2 separate regions of the Homo sapiens genome follow, and region 1 is linked to region 2. Evidence: promoter capture Hi-C in human tissues and cell types (Jung and others, 2019). All regions are on one chromosome and are shown on one strand. The core of a region is centred on a gene start or on the middle of the fragment in contact, and the rest is flanking DNA. Distances in the headings are between cores, read along the strand shown. Region 1 holds the start of ZFP3 (ZFP3 zinc finger protein). Region 2 holds the start of SCIMP (SLP adaptor and CSK interacting membrane protein).

Evidence for each region. The method cuts DNA at HindIII sites, captures the fragments that hold promoters and counts their contacts. A contact is called where the count stands out against the background at its distance.
Region 1: the fragment with the promoter of ZFP3 here is called in contact with the fragment with the promoter of SCIMP in region 2 in 1 of the 25 tissues and cell types used here (mesendoderm cells).

The regions. Positions count from the first base shown.
Region 1 is chr17:5,076,715-5,080,209 of GRCh38, reverse strand. It overlaps ZFP3 (ZFP3 zinc finger protein), which reads right to left and starts at 1,743. Exons shown (of 2, transcript NM_153018.3): 1 at 1,635-1,743. ZFP3-DT (ZFP3 divergent transcript) reads left to right here and starts at 2,097. Exons shown (of 2, transcript NR_186458.1): 1 at 2,097-2,323. RefSeq lists enhancers at 1,967-2,036, 1,404-2,275. The HindIII fragment of the contact is 17,416 bases long and covers 1-3,495 here.
Region 2 is chr17:5,233,144-5,236,926 of GRCh38, reverse strand. It overlaps SCIMP (SLP adaptor and CSK interacting membrane protein), which reads left to right and starts at 2,067. Exons shown (of 5, transcript NM_207103.3): 1 at 2,067-2,192. The coding sequence starts at 2,172. ZNF594-DT (ZNF594 divergent transcript) reads right to left here. Exons shown (of 6, transcript NR_152840.1): 6 at 924-1,813. RefSeq lists an enhancer at 1,626-1,825. The HindIII fragment of the contact is 19,973 bases long and covers 1-3,783 here.

The DNA.
Region 1 (3,495 bases), core at 494-2,993, 160 kb after region 2:
AGAACCATAGGAAAATACTTCCATATATTATTGCCTGTACCTGCTGCTGCCATCTCACTACCAGCCTGTGGATGAGGGCAGCTAAAGCTCAGAAAAACAAGGGAGATGCTGCCAGGGCCACTGGATTAATCAGTCCTGAAACCACGATACCTATTTTTTTTTTTTTCTTTGGAGATGGAGCCTCGCTCTGTCTCCCAGGCTGGAGTGCAATGGCGCAATCTTGGCTCACCGCAACCTCCGCCTCCCAGGCTCAGGCGATTCTCCCACCTCAGCCTCCCAAGCAGCTGGTATTACAGGCATCTGCCACCACGCCTGGCTAATTTTGTATTTCTAGTAGAGACAGGGTTTCACCATGTTGGCCAGGCTGGTCTCGAGCTCCTGACCTCAGGTGATCCGCCCACCTTTGCCTCCCAAAGTGCTGGGATTACAGGCATGAGCCATCACGCCCAGCTGACCCCCTCCATTTTCTTCCCTGACCCCCAGGCTCTAAGGCAGACAGCTACTCCTTCACCTTGTAGCAGCTACCCCACTGCATTATTAATTTTTCATACCTATTTTCTTCTCTAGACCATAAGCAAGGATGCTGTTCCATTCATCCTGGTATTCTGAGTACCTAGCATATTTCAGATACCTGGTAAATGTTAAGTGAATTTGTGTAACTGTCTTATATATATAATGAATCTGCAATACCTCCCTTTTTTCTGAGACAGGGTCTTGGCTCTATTGCCCAGACTCACTGCAGCTTCAACTTCCCAGGCTCAAGAAAATCCTCCCACCTCAGCCTCCCAAGTAGCTGGGACTACAAGCATGCGCCACCACACCCAACTACCCAACTAATTTCTTTGTTTTTTGTACAGATGGTGTCTCACTATGTTGCCCAGGCTGGTCTTGAACTCCTGTGCTCAAGTGATCCTCCCGCCTAGGCCTCCCAAAATGCTGGGATTACAGGCATGAGCCACTGCACCCAGCCTCTGTAATACTCTTGATGGCTAACTGGATATTTCATTCATCATTATATCTAAAGAGCCTAGGATAGTGTCTGACACATAGCTGGTGTCGATAACTGTTTGTAAAAATAAGTTCCTTTTCCCAATCTGGGTGATATTTAATTTATGGCACTGTTAACCTCCTTTCCTCTCTTCTCCCTCTGACCCACAATAGGGCTCTATCTTTGCAGCTCAAACCTGTCTCCTTTTCACGACCACCCCTCATAAGCCAATATCTTGTCTGGCAGCACAGGGCACAATCTGCCACTAGGGCGTTAAGTTTGTGACACTGCCCGCCATTTCGTCCTAGCGGTTTACTTGGGGGTGGAATGTCTGAGAAAACCACAGCTCCCACGGGTCCCCACCTCGGTACAGAAGGGAGTGTCCCTGCTTCTCCCACCCCCACGGCTGACAGGCACCAAACCAGAGCTGGGACTGTCCCTGGCGGTGTCCAGGCCCCACCCTCTCTGTGTGCAGGTGGAAATGAAGGCCTGGGGGCGGGGGGAATGGAGGGAGGCATAAACTTCAAGGTCACACAGCGAACCCCGGTCAGAACGGGCCTAAACGTAGGGTTTCCGCTCGGCTCTCTAGGGAGCTGGGAGCCCAGCCCCCGCCTACCCCCACAGCCGCGACGGAATGAGGTCTCACCGCAGGCCGCTACTGCCCCGCGCTCGCTCACTCCGCTGAGGCTCCGCGCTGCTGGGCCGCTCGCACAGAGCCCGCAGCTGTTGTCCCGGTGTCACTGGCGACGGGCATCGGCCACTTCCGGTACCCGGGCGGCACTCCAGCCAATCGGCGCGCGTCGCACTCCGCTGGAGGAACAGGTGGTCAGCGCACCGACGCCCCCTTGCCTTTTCCGGCTTGCTTTTCGCCGGTTCTAGCCCTAGCCCAAGTTCCACGTCGCCGCCGCCTGCCGAGCCGGCTCCCTGGAACAGCAAAGTGCACCCGTCGATGCCCACTTCAGCCCCGGAATCATTGACGACCTGAGTCCTCCGGGTTTCCTAGAACGGCTCCGGGGATGAACTTCCGCTCCGCGATCTGCCGCTCTGCGCCCTCGTGTCGCTCCCCAAGCATTGCTCTAGGCTCAAGAACTCGAGAATCCGCTTCGCATTCCCGCGGGGACCGTTTGCGCGACCCTTTTAACTCTCCCAACCCGCATCGTTCTTATCCCATCCTTCCTTTCCACAGACTCCGTGGGTCTGATAAGCACAGGGCTGCAGATCCTGGGAACAGGTCTCTCCTCGGCGGGAGCGAAGGGAGACATGCTTTGAGTTCCGGAAGGGCTTGCAGGAGTGACGTTTGGCCTGAAATCTCAAGATTGCGTGGGAATTACCAAGGTTAAGAGTAAAGGCCTAGGTTAAGCTGCCGAGGCCACGGAAACAGCATTCTGCAGCTAGCCTTCCTGGGTTCCCTGAGCAAGCTTGGCCCATTCTCACCTCAGAACCTTTCCTTGTTACTTCCTCTGTAATTTTGCACAGCCAGCTTGTTTTCTTGTTTGTTTGTTTTTTGAGATGGAGTTTCGCTCTTGTTGTCCAGGCTGGAGTGCGATGGCGCCATCTCCGCTCACCGCAACCTCCGCCTCCCGGATTCAAGCGATTCTCCTACTTCAGCCTCCCCGAGTAACTGGGATTACAAGCATGTGCCACCACGCCCGGCTAATTTTGTATTTTAGGTAGAGACGGGTTTTCTCCATTTTGGTCAGGCTGGTCTCGAACTCCCGACCTCAGGTGATCCGGCCGCCTCGGCCTCCCAAAGTGCTGGGATTACAGACATGAGCCACCGCGCCCGGCCTCCAGCTTGTTTTTGTTTGTTTTTTGAGGCGGAGTTTCGCTCTTGTCGCCAAGGCTGGAGTGCAATGGCACGATCTCTGCTCACTGCAACCTCCACCTCCCGGGTTCAAGCGATTCTCCAGCCTCAGCCTCCAGAGTAGCTGGGATTACAAGTGCCAGCCACCACGCCCGGCTAATTTTTGTATTTTTAGTAGAGACGGGGTTTCACCATGTTGGTCAGGCTGGTCTCGAACTTCTGACCTTAGGTCAGACCTTAGGCCCACCTTGGCCTCCCAAAGTGCTGGGATTACAGGCGTGAGCTACCGCGTCCAGCCAGCCAGTTTGTTTTTAGGTGTCAGTTCCAAGATCACCACATTGAAGACTTTCATTCTATATAATGTTGCCTCAGAGTACACTATCCTTCCCAAATATCAGTTACAAAGGACTATGATTAGCCCTGTTTGGGTCTGGTGCTCAACCATGGACCAATCAAGGGGGAAAGGACCGTGTGATTTACCAAGCCTGGTCACCTGCCTTCCCGCAAGGATGACGGCGGGCTTCTGTGTTTGCCTCACCATAATCCTATGAAATAGGGAAAGGAGTGACCACCCTTAGAAGGGAATATTGTGTTTGTATGCCACACACAATCTAGCAGAAAGAAAACTTTCTCTTGAATTCATCATTGCCATTAGGCCCTAGACTCTAGGGTCCATCACTTTAGCCACTCTGGTACTAAAATC
Region 2 (3,783 bases), core at 818-3,317:
GTGCAAAAGGCATTGTTAGAAATAGTAGGGCTACAGAGTTTACTATATCACAGCTGAACTGAGGTCCTTAAAGGTTAGCAAAATAATTTATTGAGTAATTTATTGAATGAATGAATGAAACACAAACCAAGAAGTCACAGCTTTGTTAGCCTAGGATGAGCTCTATCCACAGAAGCATTTATTCACCCCTCAGAAGAGAATTTTTTTTTTTTTTTTTTTTGAGACGGAGTGTTGCTCTGTCACCCCGGCTGGAGTGCAGTGGCTCGATCTCGGCTCACTGCAACCTCCGCCTCCCAGGTTCAAGCGATTCTTCTGCCTCAGCCTCCCAAGTAGCTGGGACTACAGGCACCTGCCACCATGCCTGGCTAATTTTTGTATTTTTAGTAGAGACGGGATTTCACCATGTTGGCCAGGCTGGTCTCAAACGCCTGACCTCATGATCCGCCTGCCTTGGCCTCCCAAAGTGCTGGGATTTCAGGCGTGAGCCACTGTGCCCGGCCTAGAAGAAAATTTTAAATTGGCTTTTAGGAAGGTTTTTTAGCAGCTAAACTTTGGATGAGCCTAAGAAGAAAGAGTTCAGGCCTTGGCCAGGTGCAGTGGCTCAACTCTGTAATCCCAGCACTTTGGGAGGCCGAGGCAGGTGGATCACTTGAGGTCAGGAGTTCGAGACCAGCCTGGCCAACATGGTGAAACCCTGTCTCTACTAAAAATACAAAGATTAGCCGGATGCGGTGGCACACACCTGTAGTCCCAGCTACTTGGGAGGCTGAGGCAGGAGAATTGCTTGAACCTGGGAGTCGGAGGTTGCAGTGTGCTGAGATTGAGCCACTGCACTCCAGCCTGGCGACAGAGTGAGACTGCATCTCAAAAAAAAAAAAAAAAAAGAAAGAAAGAAAGAAAAAGAAAAAAGAAATTAGTAAACACTGCAAATCAGGAATCTTCTGAGCCAGATGTTTTGTTTTGTTTGTTTGAGATAGAGTCTTGCTCTGTTGCCCAGGCTGGAGCGCAATGGTGTGATCTTGGCTCACTGCAACCTCCACCTCGCGGGTCCAAGCAATTCTCCCGCCTCAGCCTCCTGAGTAGCTGGGACTACCGGTTCACACCAAAATGCCCAGCTAATTTTTGTATTTTTAGTAGAGATGGGGTTTCACCATGTTGGCCAGGCTGGTCTCGAACTACTGACTTCAGGTGATCCACCCGCCTTGGCCTCCCAAAGTGCTGGGATTACAGGTGTGAGCCACCGCACCCAGCCAGAGCCCGGTGTTTGTTAAATTTACCAGACATATATCAGACATTATCAGATATTTATCAGACATATCTGGTTATCATTATTACTGAAATGGATAACAACTCATTCGCTCTGGGCAAATACAATGCACATCCGTTTGCCTATTTTTACTAATGTGACTGCTCATTTGAGTCAGAACCAGCCAATTCAACAAAATGGCTAATTGGTTTCCCCACTCCAACCCCCATGGTCAGAGGCCGTGGGCCTCGCTGGGAGTTCTGTCTCACAGTATTGCACGAGGGGACCCAACTCAGTCAAAATGCTCCACTGGCCACATTTCTCAAGGTCGCCACTCACACGCCTTTAGAAACAGGAAGCCTGTCCCTTGCCTCCTCCAAGCAGAAGATGTCTCAGCAGTTCCAAGGTGCACAGGAGCTTTCAAGAGTCACCTTCATGGTGAGATGGTGAGTTTGTCACACATGAGCTGGTTTCTTACCTGGATCTGTCTCTGCATGGGAGCTGGCGTCCTGTCGCTCTTCTTGAGACTGAGGTTGCCACATCCAGGAATGCTCACGGCAAACTCGTCTGTGGGGACACCAAACCCACCCCCACTGCCAAGTCTCCACCCTGGCCCCTGGCCCCTGCCAGGACCCCCTACCACACCATGAGGGTCCTCTGGTAGGCCTTGCGGGAGCGACACGGGGCAGTGAGAAGATTCTGGCTTCTGGACAGCCGTGGGTCATGAGCTTCCCTGGAAAAGGGATGGTTGCCTAGAGATGACGCCAGGGTCTCTGCCCCGTGGGCTGACTAGAAAGGGGAAGTGGTCAGGATGGGGCTCACTGTCTCTAGCAGTGGGTGAAGGCCTGTGAGTGAGGAATGCCTCTCACCAGCTGTGCCTGAGCTGCAGCACTCCAGCCACTGCTGTCTCCTTAGCTGCTCACATATGGATACTTTCACAGTTCAGGTAAGCATCTCAGCTTTCCAAGGGACAGTTTCCTGCTCTCTTCACAGCAGACATCTGCCAGCGCTGGCATCAGGGCGTGTCCCTGGGAGCCACCGATCAGCACTGGGCCAGGGGATTGCAGCCTGGGGCCCTGGTACGACTGCTGTGTAGGGTTGGAGAAAAACTTGCATTGAAGGATCTGCTCTACTGGTAACTGGCTGAGTGACCTGAGGCATCACTTCACCTCTCTGGGCCTTTTCCTCATGTGTATGTCAGGGGCGATGAAGAAGTCTACCTCTTGGATTGAAATGAGATAATGACCGGGAGTGAGAGGTCTCAACTGTAACGAGTTACTCTCACTTTCTGGATGCCGATGGTGTGTTTTGGGACTTGTTATGTGAGAAGACTGTCATGGTGCTATGCTGGAGGTGGGGGTGGGAGCGAGGCACTGACTGTGTCAATTTATTTATTTTTATTTTATTTTGAGATGGAGTTTCGCTCTTGTCGCCCAGGCTGGAGTGCAGTGACGTGATCTCGGCTCACTGCAACCACCGCCTCCCGGGTTCAAGCGATTCTCCTGCCTCAGCCTCCTGAGTAGCTGGGATTACAGGCACCCGCCACCACACCTGGCTAATTTCTGTATTTTTAGTAGAGACGGAGTTTCACCATGTTGGCCAGGCTGCTCTCGAACTCCTGACCTCAGGTGATCCGCCCGCCTCGGCCTCCCAAAGTGCTGGGATTACCGTAGCATGAATTTAGGCTACGTCTTGGGGCTCTTGGATGAAAGACCTGGATCACCTCCAGTCTTGGTACCTTTGTCATTGCATCTCTGGCTTTCAGTAGTTCATTAGGCACCTTCCCTTCCAGAGGCCTCGAGATCAAAGTGTGTTGGGCTGGCGTGAGTTCTCGGTGTAGCCATCTGCTTTTGCCCTCTGGAAAATTATTTTGAGAAGAGATCTGGGTTTGGCTTTGCCATATCCACTCCCACTGCCTGGTGTGTCCACTTGTCCCTGAGGTCTTGGCCATGAAGCAATGTGGAGCACAGGCTTCACTCTGCTTCAGTGGTAAATAACTACTGAGAGGCAGGCGGGGCATGGTGGCTCACGCCTCTAATCCCAGCACTTTGGGAGGCCAAGGTGGGCAGATCACAAGGTCAAGAGATCAAGACCAGCCTGGCCAACATGGTGAAACCCTGTCTCTACTACAAATACAAAAATTAGCTGGGCATGGTGGTGGGCGCCTATAGCCCCAGCTACTCGGGAAGCTGAGGCAGGAGAATCGTTTGAGCCCGGGAGGTGGAGGTTGCAGTGAGCCAAGATTATGTCACTGCACTCCAGCCTGGTGACAGAGCAAGACTCCATCTCAAAAACAAACAAACAAACTACTGAGAGGCTTAAAGCAAGGAAGGGACAGGGTCACACTGGTATTTGGCAGCCAGTGGGGAGCCCAGTGGGGGCTAGGGGCCAGCGAAAATGCAATGGTCCAGGTACAGAGATGAGGACTTGGACTACATTTGGAGGCTGATGGGCTGAAGCGGGGTGGGGATGGGGCCATGGGAGAAAGAGGAATGAGGCAAGGTTTCCGGTCTTTTCCAGAAGTGAAAGTATAGAGA